Regions from separate parts of the Homo sapiens genome. Here regions 2, 3, 4 and 5 are each linked to region 1. The links are contacts of gene promoters, found by promoter capture Hi-C in human tissues and cell types (Jung and others, 2019). All regions are on one chromosome and are shown on one strand. The core of a region is centred on a gene start or on the middle of the fragment in contact, and the rest is flanking DNA. Distances in the headings are between cores, read along the strand shown.

Region 1 (2,871 bases), core at 123-2,622:
CCTCAGCCTCCCAAAGTGCTGGTATTACAGACGTGAGCCACCATGCCCGGCCCCAGCCTGTATCTCACAAATGTTAACACACACATTAGTGGGAGACCAATCATTACAATCCATTATGATAGAGGGGACTTCCCCAAAATGAAGATTAACAGTACATACAGGCCTGGCGCGTTGGCTCATGCCTGTAATCCCAGCACTTTGGGAGGCCCAGGTGGGAAGATCACCTGAGGTCAGGAGTTCAAGACCAGCCAGGCCAATATGGTGAGACCCTGCCTCTACTAAAAAAAATACAAAAATTAGCCGGGCTTGGGGCGCGAGTCTGTAATCCCAGCTTCTAGGGAGGCTGAGGCAGGAGAATCACTTGAACCCGGGGCGGAGGTTGCAGTGAGCCGAGATCGCGCCCTTGCACTCCAGCCTGGGCGACAGAGTGAGACTCCGTCTCAAAAAAAAAAAAAAGAAAAAAAGAAAAAAACACAGTTCATAAAGTGAACGACCTTGTCAAAACACTGGTTGGAAGCAGGTCTCTTCCCTCCGCACTGTTTCCTATCATATAGCCTTAAGCATTTCCCTCAGGGTTAAAAAAAAAAAAAGTGACAAGGCTGGTTTGTTTTTTTTTTTTCTTTTTCCAGAGGGAGTCTCGCCCTGTCGCCCATGCTGGAGTGCAAAGGCGCGATCTCGGCTAACTGCAACCTCCGCCTCCGGGTTCAGCTTCCCGAGTAGCTGGGATTACAGGCGCGCGCCACCACGTCCGGCTAATTTTCTATTTTTAGTAGAGACCGGGGTTTCACCATTTTGGCCAGGCTAGTCTCGGACTCCTGACCTCAGGTGATCCGGCCGCCTCGGCCTCCCAAAATACTGGGATTACAGGCGTGAGCCACTGCCCCTGGCCACAAGGCTGTTTTCAATCCTTGCACAGATCTCTGTCCGACTAGGCACAGTGAATACCCTTGGAAAACAGGGAATGCTGAGGTGGGAGGCAAAGAGCCAGGGCGTTCAAGAAGGCAGCGCGCAGGCAAGCGGGCAGTGCCCAAGACCCGAGCAAAAGTCACATGAGCTGCGGGGCAAATCTCCGTCCTCAGGCCGACCTCTTGGATCTGGTGACTTGGAGCAAGGGACCTTCCTGCGGCATCTGGGCGGCTCAAGGCCCGCGGCCTTCCCTAGGCGGGCTCCAGCCCACTCCCCGGGACTGCCGCCGCGGCTTCGTAAGACCCAACCAAGCCCCTCACCTGCTTTTGCACGTCAGCATCGCTGAGAGCCATGGCGAGAGCAATGCTAGGCCGGTGAACAGTAGGCTCGAGTTTAGGTTTGAAAGGTGAGGTGAGAGAAATCGGCAAAGGGAACCCCTGCGCAGATCTCGGGTTCCTTTACTTTATAACCGCGGGTTCCGGTTCCTGCCAGGTGACTGCACAGTTCATCCTCATGACCCTTCTCAGCCAATGGGAAGAGAGCGACGCCCAGGAAGTCCCGCCCTGTCCCGGCCTGTGGGCGCGTCCTCGGGTCCTTCTACGTCGCTGACTCGTGACCTGACCGGTATTTTTTTCCTAAACTGGGATCTTGGGTAGGAGGAAGAAAAGATAAGGAGTTCCTCTATCTGAAATTAGTCGGGCTGTTTTGAGGAGTACTGGTTAGGTATATTGGAGAATGTGCCTTTATTGGAATTTTTCGCATAATTACACAGGGTTATGGGCTTAGGGGTACATGATTGTTGGCCGGGCGTGGTGGCTCACGCCTGCAATCCGGAGACTTTGGGAGACCAAGGCGGGTGTATCGCTTGACCTCAAGTTCGAGACCAGGCTGGACAACATAGAGGAACCCCGTCTCTACCAAAAGAAAAAAAAAAGGGGGATACATGATTTCTGACTATTCATGTCAACCTTGATTACCTGAATAAAGTGTAGGGTTTGTAGGTTTCTCCACTCTGAAGTTACCTTTTTTAACCCCCTTTCCATACTGTAGTCTTAGGAAGGAAGCCACTATACAAAGCCCACACCTAGGGAGTGGGAAGCTATGCTCAACTTCCTTATTAGGGTGGAGCAGCTACATAATTTATTTGGAACTTTTCTGAGATAGCCTATATATTTTTCAAAAGCCTTCCCAGGTCCCATTTAGAGGAATATTAGGACAGAAATCCCCCCAGGCTCATTTGTTTTTATTTGGATTTACCTCAAGCCCGTTTTTTTCCCCAAAATCCCAAAGGCAAAAACTTTTGAAAATTCCTTTATCTTTAGGATAGACTGACTCCTAATAGTAGAATAAGAGGTCAAATGGTACACCCACTTTTTTCTTTTTACTGTGCTATGGTTACCCACCATTTTTATTAGCTTTTTATCTTGAAGAAATTTGAGATATAGTAACTTGTAAGAATACTGCATTGACCTCCCTTCACCTAGATTCAACAATTGTTAACATTTTGCTACATGTACATTAACACTTTATTTTCATACACACACACACACACACACACACACACACTTCCTATTTTAGTGTGTCATAAGAACGAGGATGTAGCAAATTCAGGAAATTTAGTTTACTAGGCTGAACATTAATTTCCTTTGTCCCGGGCCAGGCGCGGTGTCTCACGCCTGTAATCCCACCACTTTGGGAGGCTGAGGTGGGCAGATCACCTGAGGTCGGGATTTCGAGACCAGCCTGACCAACATGGAGAAACCCCAGTCTCTACTAAAAATACAAAATTAACAGGCGTGGTGGTGTGTGCCTGTAATCCCAGCCACTGGAGAGGCTGAGGCAGGAGAATTGCTTCAACCCAGGAGCAGAGGTTGCGGTGAGCCAAGATCGTGCCACTGCACTCCAGCCTGGGCAATAAGAGTGAGACTCCGTCTCAAAAAAACAAAAAAAAAAAAAACAAATTCC
Region 2 (2,871 bases), core at 145-2,644, 500 kb after region 1:
CTTCTAGCTACATATATAATTTCCCCCCAAGACTATGCCTATTTTTTATGTGACAGTTCTAATCATCCTGGCAAAACCAGTCAAGGTCTTCCAAAAAATGAAATTCTTTTTTCTTTTTCAAATGGAAACAAACAACCAGCTAGTAGGAGAATGAATGGGGAAAAAAGAGAATGAATGAGAGACATGGTGGGTGATGGGGAAATTAACAAAGCGGAAATGTCCCCTCATTCTCTCTCCTTAAAGCAGAAGCTCTGGAGTTATGTCCTGAAGGATCATTATGGTAGCATTAGCATAAGCTAAGAAAAGTATGTTCCCTGGAGAGGATGCTGCTAAACTTCATCTTCTTGCATTCTCTCCAACAGTACTTGTCCCCACTTGACTCAGGTCAAGAGATGTTAGCACTTAGAGGAGAACAGGTTGGCCCAGGCACAAGGTTTATGGCAGTCGGCTCAGTTCTAGCAATGTATGTGATGTGGCCAAATTCATATACATTGCCTTTCCCTTCCCCACTTTGCCCCTCTCCCAGTATCACCTCCACCTCCAAGATGCCACCTGTGCCTAAGAGGAATGACGGCTGCTGTGGGTCCAGTGGCTGCCTGGCTACCCATGTTGCCACACAGCTGGCTGCCATTCCCACACCAGCCCCTCAGGAGGATGTGCATTTTAAAGCTATGGATTTAAGAGACTGGCGATTAAAATGTGGTGGTCTCAGTGGGAGAGGTGGCTGAGGACATCACTATAGTTCTCATAAGTAATGTCACGGTTTGCCACATTAGACTTGTCCCAGTTTCCCATGGTTCCTGGGGTTGGCTTTGGTTTGGGACGTGTGTTGGGAAGAAGAGAGATTTCCAGGATAGCAGCACCACTGTAAGACGGGTCTGGGCTGAGCCTGGGAGACCTGCCATGCTGCCAGAACTTGGCAAGACCTTCAACAACCTTCTTGGATTGGAGACCCTGCTTTTCTTCTAAGAAGCCCCAATTCCCAAAAACCTAGAGCCTGGTTAACGCCAACACCATCCCGGGGCCTTTCGGCTCTCTTTATTTATTGCTCTGGAATATCCCTGTGACCTCTTCCAACAGTTTTCACTCTTGGCAGGGAAACTTCCTTAAATTTACTCGCAACACAACTAAGAGGAACTTCAGATGACCACTTGGGAGAGAGTACACTTTTGAACAGCTTTGAATCTAGAATGCGTTTCCCTGTTACACATACACATGTACCAGACACCTCCCACCCGCTCCTAATGTCGCTCGTGACTCTCATTTGCCTACTTGCTGAGCCCCCTATACCAGCCCTGTCCTCCTTCTCTAGCCTTTGATTGCCCAGCCCTTCCCCATCTACTTTTTTTTTTGTTTTGCTTTTAAGAGACAGGGTCTTGCTGTGTCCCTGCCACTGGAGTGCAGTGGAACCACTGTAGCTCACTGCAGCCTTGACCTCATGGGCTCAAGTGATCCTTCCACCTCAGCCTCCCTGAGTAGCTGGGACTAGTAGGCATAGCCACCGGGCCTGGCTAATTTTTTTTTTTTTTTTGGTAGAGATGGGTTTTTGCTCTGTTGCCCTGCCTGCTTCCACTTTCTCTTCAGCTTCTCCCTTGCCACCTGCTGGCTTCCCCAGTCCCATCCCGCCTGTTGCATCCCATAGCCCCACTCCCACGCCCCTGACCATGACTTGAAGCCATGCCAAGTGACCAAGATGTCCCATCCTGAGTTATCCTCTGGCTGACTTGTATCTTCTTCTGTGGCTCCTCCTCTTTCTGTGTCCCTCAGGTGGGCATCAACTACCAGCCCCCGACCGTGGTCCCCGGGGGAGACCTGGCCAAGGTGCAGCGGGCCGTCTGCATGCTCAGCAACACCACGGCCATTGCGGAGGCCTGGGCCCGCCTCGACCACAAGTTCGACCTCATGTACGCCAAGCGGGCCTTTGTGCATTGGTATGTGGGAGAGGGGATGGAAGAAGGAGAATTTTCTGAGGCCAGGGAAGACTTAGCTGCCCTGGAGAAGGATTATGAAGAAGTGGGGACTGATTCGTTTGAAGAAGAAAATGAAGGGGAGGAATTTTAAATATATACCTTCCCCTTGGCTGTGTCTCTTTATTTATGCTGTGCCATTCAAAGCACATGTTCAAGAGAACAGAACACTCTCCCCGCCCCAGCCTGATTCCTGCCTTACCCAGGAGGAGGGTGCCTGGCCCCAGTACCCAGGGTGGCACGACTGGGCTAAGTGGACACTGAGCTTCATCAGGCCCTCCCTGGGTAGGAGCAGCTTTGTGTCACTAAAGAAAGTGAGGGCCACTGTCTCCGGCGGGTGAGGCTGCAGCCCAGTTTCACATGCGAGGAGGCCTAATCAGGAGTTTCAATTCCAGATCGGGCTGGGTCCAGCCCCAAAACATGGCCTGCTGGCTGGGGAGTGGGAACACTCAGAGAAAGGGGAGATCTGGGCCTGGGAAGATTCCGGGGCAGGGGTGAGCGGACGTTCACATGAGTGGGTCTATAGCCCGCTCCGGGCATCATCTAGACTTAGCATGCATTCACTCCCCCATCACATATTCCAATACACACCCTGTCCTAGGCACTGAGAGCTGGAGAGTTGGTGATAAGCGAGACGAACACATTTCCTGCCCTCATACACACATAAATAAAGTGAATGAGATCATGTCAGCTGGTGTCAAGTGAGAGAAAGTAAAAAGCAGTGGTGAGAGAGTGTCTGGGCGTGCTCCTGTGGACTGCGTGGTCAAGACAGCCTCATGGAGGCCTGGGCCGTGCAAAAGGATGCTAGGTGCAGGGAGAAGCAAGTGCAAAAGCTAGGAACAAGCTTGGAGCGTCTGCAGAGCAGAAAGGAGATTGTTTCCTGGAGGATGGTGAGAGGGGAAGA
Region 3 (2,871 bases), core at 372-2,871, 430 kb after region 1:
CCAAGCCCACGCCCACCCGGAACTCCAGCTGGCCCGCAAGCGGCGCGCGCAGCCCCGGTTCCCGCTCGCGCCTCTCCCTCCACACCTCCTTGCAAGCTAAGGGAGCCGGCTCCGGCCTTGGCCAGCCCAGAAAGGGGCTCCCACAGTGCAGTGGTGGGCTGAAGGGCTCCTCAAGTGCTGCCAAAATGGGAGCCCAGGCAGAGGAGGCACGGAGAGCGAGCGAGGGCTGTGAAGACTGCCAGCACGCTGTCACCTCTCAATGTGGCTGATAAGGTAGACTTGGGTGGGGTAGGGGCAGCCCAACAACCCGTTCAAAGAGCTTGAGGCACGTTCCTCTTCTGCTCTCACCGCTTTTCCTTCTCCCTGGTGCTGCAGAGCATCCCACAGTTTGTGTGCACTGCCTCCCCACACTCCCTCCTCATCTCACTCTGCCTGGCTCATGTCTCCACCATCCCCTCTTGTGGCTCCTCAGGAGGCTGCCCCTGACCTCCATCTTCCCCAGGGCAGTAGGGAATCACCCCATGTCGCCTCCCCTGGCCTCTTGCATGTCTTGACACAGAGCAGCACCCTCTCTCAAAGCGCTTCTTCTCCAGGCCTTCCAGGCCCACAGCCGACCCATAAGCTCCTCTCTCAATGGCTACAGCCTCCGCCTCCTGTACTGCCTCCTCCTCCTGTTCTCTAATTGTCCTGGGTCTTTCCACCACTTCTGTCTCCACATTGTGGTCCTAGGCTCCTCCACCCCAGGGCTTTAAGAACCACACACATGCTAATGACTCTCACCTTTGACCTTCTGCTGATCTTCCAGCTGAGCTTCAGACTCATATGCACTCCTAGGCTACGTGCTCTCTTGGTGCCCAACAGGTCTCAAACTTGACATGTCTAAAACAGAAGACTTGCCTGTAGTTCCAGCTACTCGGGAGGCTGGGGCAGGAGAGTCGCTTGAACCCAGGAGGTGGAAGTTGCAGTGAGCCGAGATCATGCCACTGTACTGCACCCTGGGTGACAGAGTGAGACTCGGTCTCAAAATAAATAAATAAATACATAAATAAATAAAACAGAAGACTTGCTTCCCTACCACTCCAAACCCATTTATTCCCTAGTCTCCTCCGTCATACTAAGTGAAACCACTCTACCCTGTTGCTCAGGACGAAAACCTCACCCTGAACTCTTTGCTTTGCTTTTCTCTAACATCTCACAATGAATCCATTAGTAAGTCCTCTTCTTTTTTTTTTTTTTTCAAGACAGAGTCTTGCTCTGTCACCCAGGCTGGAGTGCAGTGGCACAATCACGGCTCGCTGCAAGCTCCGCCTTCCGGGTTCACGCCATTCTCCCACCTCAGCCTCCCGAGTAGCTGGGACTACAGGCGCCCGCCACCATGCCCAGCTAATTTTTTGTATTTTTAGTAGAGACAGGGTTTCACCATATTAGCCAGGATGGTCTCAATCTCCTGCCCTTGTGATCTGCCCACCTCGGCCTCCCAAAGTGTTGGGATTACAGGCGTGAGCCACCGCGCCCGGCCAGTCTGCTCCATTTTTTTTACATTCAAAATGCATTTCCCACTGCTAACTACCTCCACTTCCTCCCCCCAGATCTAGGCCACCCTCCTCTCTTCCATGTACCAAAACCCCTACCTATTCTTCCTATCGCCGTTCTTGGCCCCCTCTAGCCCATCCTGTACAAAGCAGCCCAAGAATGGCCTTTCTAAAGTAGATGCCACATCACAGGACTCTTCCCCTTAAAAAACCCAACAGAATCCAAACCCTTTCTGGTGGCCTGCAGTGACAGAGCTGACCCTGCCGGCGTTTGCCGCTCTTTTCCCTCCTCTCCGTTGGTCGCCGTGGCACTGTCCTATGGGCCTTCTTTTTGTCCCCTGAACACACCAAGCTCTTTTCTGACTCTGAGCCCTTCCACTCAATGGTCCATGCTACCTAGCAGCCCCCTCACCTTTCAGGCTGCAACTTTGACACCTGCTCAGACAGGCCTGCCCTAACCTTGTGGGCTAAAGGAGCCCCACATCACTCTCTAGCTGCAGTTTCATTTTGTTTTGTTTTTGAGACAGGGTCTCACTCTATCACCCAGGCTAGAGTGCAGTGGTGTGATCATAGCTCACTGCAAGCTCCGCCTCCTTCCATGATAGCCTCAAACTCCAGGCCTCAATGGATCCTCCCTCCTCGGCCTCTCAAAGGTCTGGGATTACAGGCATGAGCCACTATGCCCGGCCTCTATCTGCATTTTGTGTTCAGTGTACACTTATCAGTACATAAATTATCTTGGCTAGTCGTCATTTCTGTTGTCTATCTCCAACCACCCCCGAAGCCTTTCATCTCTAGCTCCCAGAGCTGGGGACTTGTCTTGTTTACTGCCGTATTCCCAATGCCTAGAGCTCATGTGGCATGCAGCAGGCACTGGCTATGGGTGGAGGTCTCCAGCTCTGCTCCAGCTCCTGTCCCACACGGTGAGTAGCCTTCAGAAAAGGAAGTCCTTGAAAAGTGGAGGCTGGGGCTTTGTTCGGCCTTTCCCTGCCCCTAGGCTTGCGTTCAGCCCGTGGCTGTGTGTCCCTTCCTGGCTTTGCCCCTGATTTGCTCAGTGTGGGTGAGCCATAGCCAGTCTGGTGCTGAGGAAGGGGGTGGATGGGAAGGGCGGGGCCCATATGTCAGTGAGACACAGGCCACAGTTCAGATGGATGGTATCAAGTCTTCATGACTTCAGCTGCACTTAGTTAAACATGGACCAGCCCATTGGAACCTTGTGGGCAGTAGTCTGATTTCTGCTGTCATTTCTGCTCTCTTCCAAGCTTCAATTAAGGGAGCAACAAAAGATCTCTATCATGAGCCATGTGTGGTGATCTCATCTGCTGAGACAAATATTTTT
Region 4 (2,871 bases), core at 234-2,733, 300 kb after region 1:
GCGCCAGAACCACAACACACACTCAGATCTTTGGGGAGTGAATTAAAGGTTTGGCTTCTGACTGTATACTCTGAGCACTCGAGATAAATTGGGTTTTATTTACATGTGTCTTGCCATACTTTACTATATGCAGCATAGCGTGGTGGACACATTCACCCACTGCAGGAACGCTACCTGATGCGAGGAATAGTACTGTTAGAAACACCTGTCCGTGGGCCGGGCGCGGTGGCTCATGCCTGTAATCCCAGCACTTTGGGAGGCCGAGGCGGGCGCATCACGAGGTCAGGAGATCGAGACCATCCTGGCTAACACGGTGAAACCCCGCCTCTACTAAAAATACAAAAAATTAGCGGGGCGTGGTGGCGGGCATCTGTAGTCCCAGCTACTCAGGAGGCTGAGGCAGGAGAATGGCGTGAACCCGGGAGGCGGAGCTTGCAGTGAGCCAAGATTGCACCACTGCACACCAGCCTGGGCGAAACAGCAAGACTCCGTCTCAAAAAAAAAGAAAGAAAGAAAGAAAGAAAGAAACACCTGTCTGCATGCGTCTTCATGTAGTGTATGAGATATATCTAGTGTGGTGAACACATTCACTCACTGAGATAAGACTACTGTGATTCACATGTGCAAGGAGCACTTAAGAAACATAAAGCCAACTTTACGTAATGCAGTACATGCACCACGCTTTGGTGGACACATTCACTCCTTGAAATAACACTGCCCTGATACGATGAACAACCAGAACACTTAGATGTTTCATACCGTGGCTTTATATATTGTGTTACATGCCCCATAGGGGGGTGACCATAATCACTGTAATGACACAACCCTGATGTGACAAATGACTGGCACCCTTAGAACTTTTTTTTCTTAAGACGGAGTCTCACTCTGTCACCCAGGCTGGAGTGCAGTGTCGTGATCTCCGCTCACTGCAAGCTCCACCTCCCGGGTTCACGCCTTTCTCCTGCCTCAGCCTCCCAAGTAGCTGGGACTACAGGCGCCCGCCACCACGCCTGGCTAATTTTTGTATTTTTAGTAGAGATGGGGTTTCACTGTGTTAGCCAGGATGGTCTCGAACTCCTGACCTTGTGATCTGCCCGCCTCGGCCTCCCAAAGTGCTGGGATTACAAGCATGAGCCACGGTGCCCGGCCCTTTTTTTTTTTTTTCCTTTTTTAAAGAAAGAGTCTCCCTCTGTCTGCCAGGCTGGAGTGTAGTGATGCCATCATAGCTCACCGTAACCTCAAACTCCTGGGTCAAACAATTCCCCCTACCTCAGCCTCCCAAGTAGATGGAACTACAGATGTGCACCACCACGCCTGGCTAATTTTTTTTTTTTTTTTTTTTAGAGGCAAAGTCTAGTTCTGTTGCACAGGCTAATCTCAAACTCCTGGCTTCAAGCAATCCTCCTGTCCTGGTCTCTCCAAGTGCTAGGATTAAGAGGCATGAGCCACCATGCCCAGCCTCCAATATTTTGTTTTTAAAACCATGTGTAAGTTGGGTTATTTAACTTCCAATTCCTGAAAAAAGACCGATAAGTAACAACATTTTTTCCAAAGGCTCCCCTCTGTAAACAGGCCTGAAACCCATCTGTGCTCTATTTCATTTTTCTTTCTTTCCTTTTCTTTTCTTTTTTTTTTTTTTTTTTTGACAGGGTCTTGCTCTGTTGCCCAGGTTGGAGTGCAGTGGCGCTATCTCGGCTCACTGCTACCTCCGCCTCCCGGGTTCATGCCATTCTCCTGCCTCAGCCTCTTGAGTAGCTGGGACTACAGATGCCCGCCACCACGCCTGGCTAATTTTTTGTATTTTTAGTAGAGACAGGGTTTCACCTGATGCCCAGGCTGGTCTCGAACTCCTGACCTCAGGTGATCCACCCGCCTTGGCCTCCCAAAGTGCTGGGATTACAGGCGTGAGCCACTGCGCCCGGCCTCTATGCTCCATTTCAGAAGGAATAAACCTCTTTAAAGCAAAAGGGCTATGTGTAACCAAGAAAACTCTCATATCTGGAATGTAGAAAAATTCTGTATAAACCAATACGGAAAAAAACAGACACCAAAGGAAAAACGGGCAGAAGATTTGATCAGGCATATCACAAAAGAGGACACTCAAATCACCAAGGCATGTGAACAGGTGTTTAACATATTAGTCACAGGAAGTCCATCAAAACCATAATGAGATCCTATCACCCATCAGAATAACTAAAATTAAAGACTGACAATGCCACGAGTAGGCAACGATAGGGAACAACTGGAACTCTCAGACAATGCGCGTGGTGAACTCGTACAACCACTATGGAAAATTGTTCAGCAGTGGTTCTTGAAGCTACATACACATCTACCCTAAAACTCAGCAATTCCATTCTTGGGGATACATCCAACAGAGATGAATGTCTTATGTTAGCCAAAAGACAAGTAAAAGAATGCTCATTGCAGCTTTATTCATAATACTCAAAAATTGGAAACATTCAAATGACCAACAGCAGCAAAATGATAAGCTGCAGTTACAGTCACACAATGGAATACCACACAGCAGGAAAGAGGAATGAACTACTGCAACATCCAGCCACACCGATGAAACTCACAGATTAGTGCTGGGCAAGAGAGGGCAGACACAGGACAGAAAATACTGCACGACTCCATGTACACAAAGACAAGAACAAAGTTTATGTCTATGGTGCAGAAGTCGGCTCAGACAGTGGCTACCTGGGCAGGGCTGGGACTTGGGACCCTGATCTGGACAGTGGTGCTGTGTCAACTTGGTTAAGCTGGGAACTGTCTCCCAGGGCCCCCAGTTAGAGTCTGAGTTAGAATTGGCCACGCCAGGAAGTTCCGTAAAGCTTGGAAGGTGAACTGAAGCAGTGGCCATGAGGTGAAGGG
Region 5 (2,871 bases), core at 188-2,687, 280 kb before region 1:
TCCAGGGCTCACATGATTCTCATGCCTCAGCCTCCCGAGTAGCTGGGATTACAGCGCATGCCACCGTGCCCAGCTAATTTTTTGTATTTCTAGTAGAGACGTGGTTTCACCACGTTGGCCAGGCTGGTCTTGAACTCCTGACCTCAAATGATCCACCCACCTCGACCTCCCAAAGTGCTGGGATCATAGGCGTGAGCCACTGCCTGGCCTATATACAATCTTTCATTCTTCAACCACTGTTGACCAATCACTGACCATCCCCCCAGAACTCCCCCCACTTTGATGGTTCTGTCATCTCCATTTTGGCCTCAGTCCCAACCGCCAACAAGAAATGCTACTCTGGGCCGGACTTGGTGGCTTACACCTGTAATCCCAACACTTTGGGAGGCCGAGGCGGGTGGATCACGAGGTCAGGAGTTTGAGACCAGTCTGACTAACATGGTGAAACCCTGTCTCTACTGAAAATACAAAAATTAGCCAGGCATGGTGGTGTGCGCCTGTAATCCCAGCTACTCAGGAGGCTGAGAATGAGAGTCGCTTGAACCCAGGGGCAGAGGTTGCAGTGAGGCGAGATCACGCCACTGCACTCCAGTCTGGGTGACAAAGTGAGACTCCGTCTCAAAAAAAAAAAAAAAAGAAATGCTACTCTGTGCCATTTGTTATGAATTTTAAGGTGAAGACACTATTTTTTACACTTCACCATCCAGCCTTTAGCCAGGAAATTTGATTGCAGTTGAGTTTCAAATGGGCACATGAGATGCGCTCACAAGGCCAGGGGACTAATTTGGGGCCTGTAACTATTAGAGACATTTCCACAGTTCCCAACCTTTGCAATAGATTGTTTCTGGAGATTTGTCTTTTCTACCATTAATTAAGAAGCTTGCTAACTCCTGTTATTTAGTCTGGCAGGGATGGGCCATTAGATCAGAGTGTTTTTATTTTTATTTATTTATTTACTACTTTTTAGAGATGAGGTCTTGCTATGTTGCCCAGGCAGAGTGCAGTGGCTATTCACAGGCAGAATGCCATTGCTGATCAGCATAGGACCTTTGACTCTTCTGTTTCTGACCTGAACCCATTCACCCCTCGTTGGGCAACCTCCTGGTTCTCTGCTCCCAGGAGGTCACCATACTGATGTTGAACCTAGTGTGAATACCCAGTTGGCATAGTGAACTATAGCCCAGAACTCCCAAGCTAAACTGATCCTCCCGCCTCAGCCCCCCATGTAGCTGAGGCCGCAGGCATGTACTATCACACCTGGCTATGTTTTTTTTTTCCGTAGAGACAGGGTCTCACTATTTTGCTCAGGCTGTTCTTGAAACCCTGGGCTCAATCAATCCTCCTGCCTCGGCCTCCCAAAGTGCTGAGATTATAGACATGAGCCACTGCAGCCAGAATATTTTTGTTGTTGTTGTCGTTTTGTTTTGTTTTTTGATTTTTTTAATTATACTTTTAAGTTCCAGGGTACAAGCGCACAACGTGCAGGTTTGTTACATATGTATACGTGTTCCATGTTGGTGTGTGCAGCCAGAATTTTTTTTTTTTTTTGAGATGGAGTCTCGCTCTGTCACCCAGGCTAGAGTGCAGTGGCGCGATCTCGGCTCACTGCCAGCTCTGCCTCCCGGGTTCATGCCATTCTCCTGCCTCAGCCTCCCGAGTAGCTGGGATTACAGGCGTCTGCCACCACACCCGGCTAAATTTTTGTATTTTTAGTAGAGATGGGGTTTCACCGTGTTAGCCAGGATGGTCCCGATCTCCTGACCTCGTGATCTGCCCACCTCGGCCTCCCAAAGTGCTGGGATTACAGGCGTGAGCCACCGCGCCCAGCGCAGCCAGAATGTTTTTAGAGGTCATCACACATTAGCTAATGTTTCTGTGGTTTAGGAGGGCACGTCAGAAGCTGTCTTCTGGACTGACTGCGATTTACCAGGAATGCCATGTTTTTTAGCATGATTAAACCTAACAGCATAATCATATCCATCTCTATGCAAGAATAACCACAGTTGTCACAGGGTGCCCCCCATCCTTTTCCTTTTTCACCAACAGGTCTCTTCCTACTAAATGTCCAAAAACCTTTTAGTTTTTCAGCCACGCAAAGACAAGAATCTCACAGACTCTGCTTCAGTTGTCGTTAATGAAGATAGAAGGTGATAGGGAAACCTGATTAACTTTAAAAATAATGAAAGTATACACATAATAGATTTGAAGTTCATAGGAATTTCTAGGTCTTCAACTCTTACAACAATGCTTAAAACATAGTAACTGTTTAGTAAATATTTATGGGGGAATAATATGAAAATTATTATTCATATTATTATTCCCCAAAATATGGGGAAAAATATGATTGGGGAAATCAAATTGGAAAACAATGTCAATCCCACAGTTGTATTCATAAAAAGGAAAATTTTTTTCTTTCCTTCTTTTTTTTTATTTTTATTTTTTGTGAGACAGAGTCTCACTCTCTCACCCCCATTGGAGTGCAGTTGTGTGATCTCACTGCAACCTCTGCCTCCTGGGTTCAATGATTCTCCTGCTTCAACCTCCTGAGTAGCTGGGATTACAGGTGCACGCCACCATGCCGGCTACTTTTTGTATTTTTAGTAGAGACAGGATTTCACCATGTTGGCCAGGCTGGTCTCAAACTCCTGGCCTCAAGTGATCTGCCCACCTCAGCCTCCCAAAGTGCTGAGATTACAGGCGTGAGCCACCGGGCCTGACCAAATTTTTTCTTTTTGGGGTAAAATAATGAGTATAGCTTATACAGACTAGGACTTTGTGTATTGTAATAAATAAGACAAATAGTTTTTACTGTAATTGGTGCAGGTAGCTTTAGGCTATATAATTATTTACTCCTCATCTTAAGTTAAAAGC

The links. The method cuts DNA at HindIII sites, captures the fragments that hold promoters and counts their contacts. A contact is called where the count stands out against the background at its distance.
Region 2: a fragment that was not itself captured here is called in contact with the fragment with the promoter of ATP6V1E1 in region 1 in 1 of the 25 tissues and cell types used here (lymphoblastoid cells).
Region 3: a contact is called between a fragment that was not itself captured here and the fragment with the promoter of ATP6V1E1 in region 1, in 1 of the 25 tissues and cell types used here (lymphoblastoid cells).
Region 4: a contact is called between a fragment that was not itself captured here and the fragment with the promoter of ATP6V1E1 in region 1, in 1 of the 25 tissues and cell types used here (lymphoblastoid cells).
Region 5: a fragment that was not itself captured here is called in contact with the fragment with the promoter of ATP6V1E1 in region 1 in 1 of the 25 tissues and cell types used here (lymphoblastoid cells).

Annotation. Positions count from the first base shown.
Region 1 is chr22:17,627,377-17,630,247 of GRCh38, forward strand. ATP6V1E1 (ATPase H+ transporting V1 subunit E1) reads right to left here and starts at 1,373. Exons shown (of 9, transcript NM_001696.4): 1 at 1,227-1,373. The coding sequence starts at 1,259. It also overlaps a transcript of BCL2L13 not described here. RefSeq lists enhancers at 1,068-1,217, 1,298-1,387, 1,329-1,498. The HindIII fragment of the contact is 10,651 bases long and covers 1-2,871 here.
Region 2 is chr22:18,129,076-18,131,946 of GRCh38, forward strand. TUBA8 (tubulin alpha 8) reads left to right here. Exons shown (of 5, transcript NM_018943.3): 5 at 1,768-2,657. The coding sequence ends at 2,061. Among named protein-coding and RNA genes, the nearest start is that of USP18, 20 kb to the right of the region's middle. The HindIII fragment of the contact is 4,128 bases long and covers 1-2,871 here.
Region 3 is chr22:18,053,663-18,056,533 of GRCh38, forward strand. LOC105372853 (a long non-coding RNA gene) reads left to right here and starts at 2,297. Exons shown (of 6, transcript XR_001755424.2): 1 at 2,297-2,455. The HindIII fragment of the contact is 9,258 bases long and covers 1-2,871 here.
Region 4 is chr22:17,927,944-17,930,814 of GRCh38, forward strand. All of the region lies in intron 1 of MICAL3 (microtubule associated monooxygenase, calponin and LIM domain containing 3), which reads right to left. Among named protein-coding and RNA genes, the nearest start is that of MIR648, 52 kb to the right of the region's middle. The HindIII fragment of the contact is 3,175 bases long and covers 1-2,871 here.
Region 5 is chr22:17,351,916-17,354,786 of GRCh38, forward strand. It overlaps the pseudogene RN7SL843P. Among named protein-coding and RNA genes, the nearest start is that of CECR2, 16 kb to the right of the region's middle. The HindIII fragment of the contact is 4,750 bases long and covers 1-2,871 here.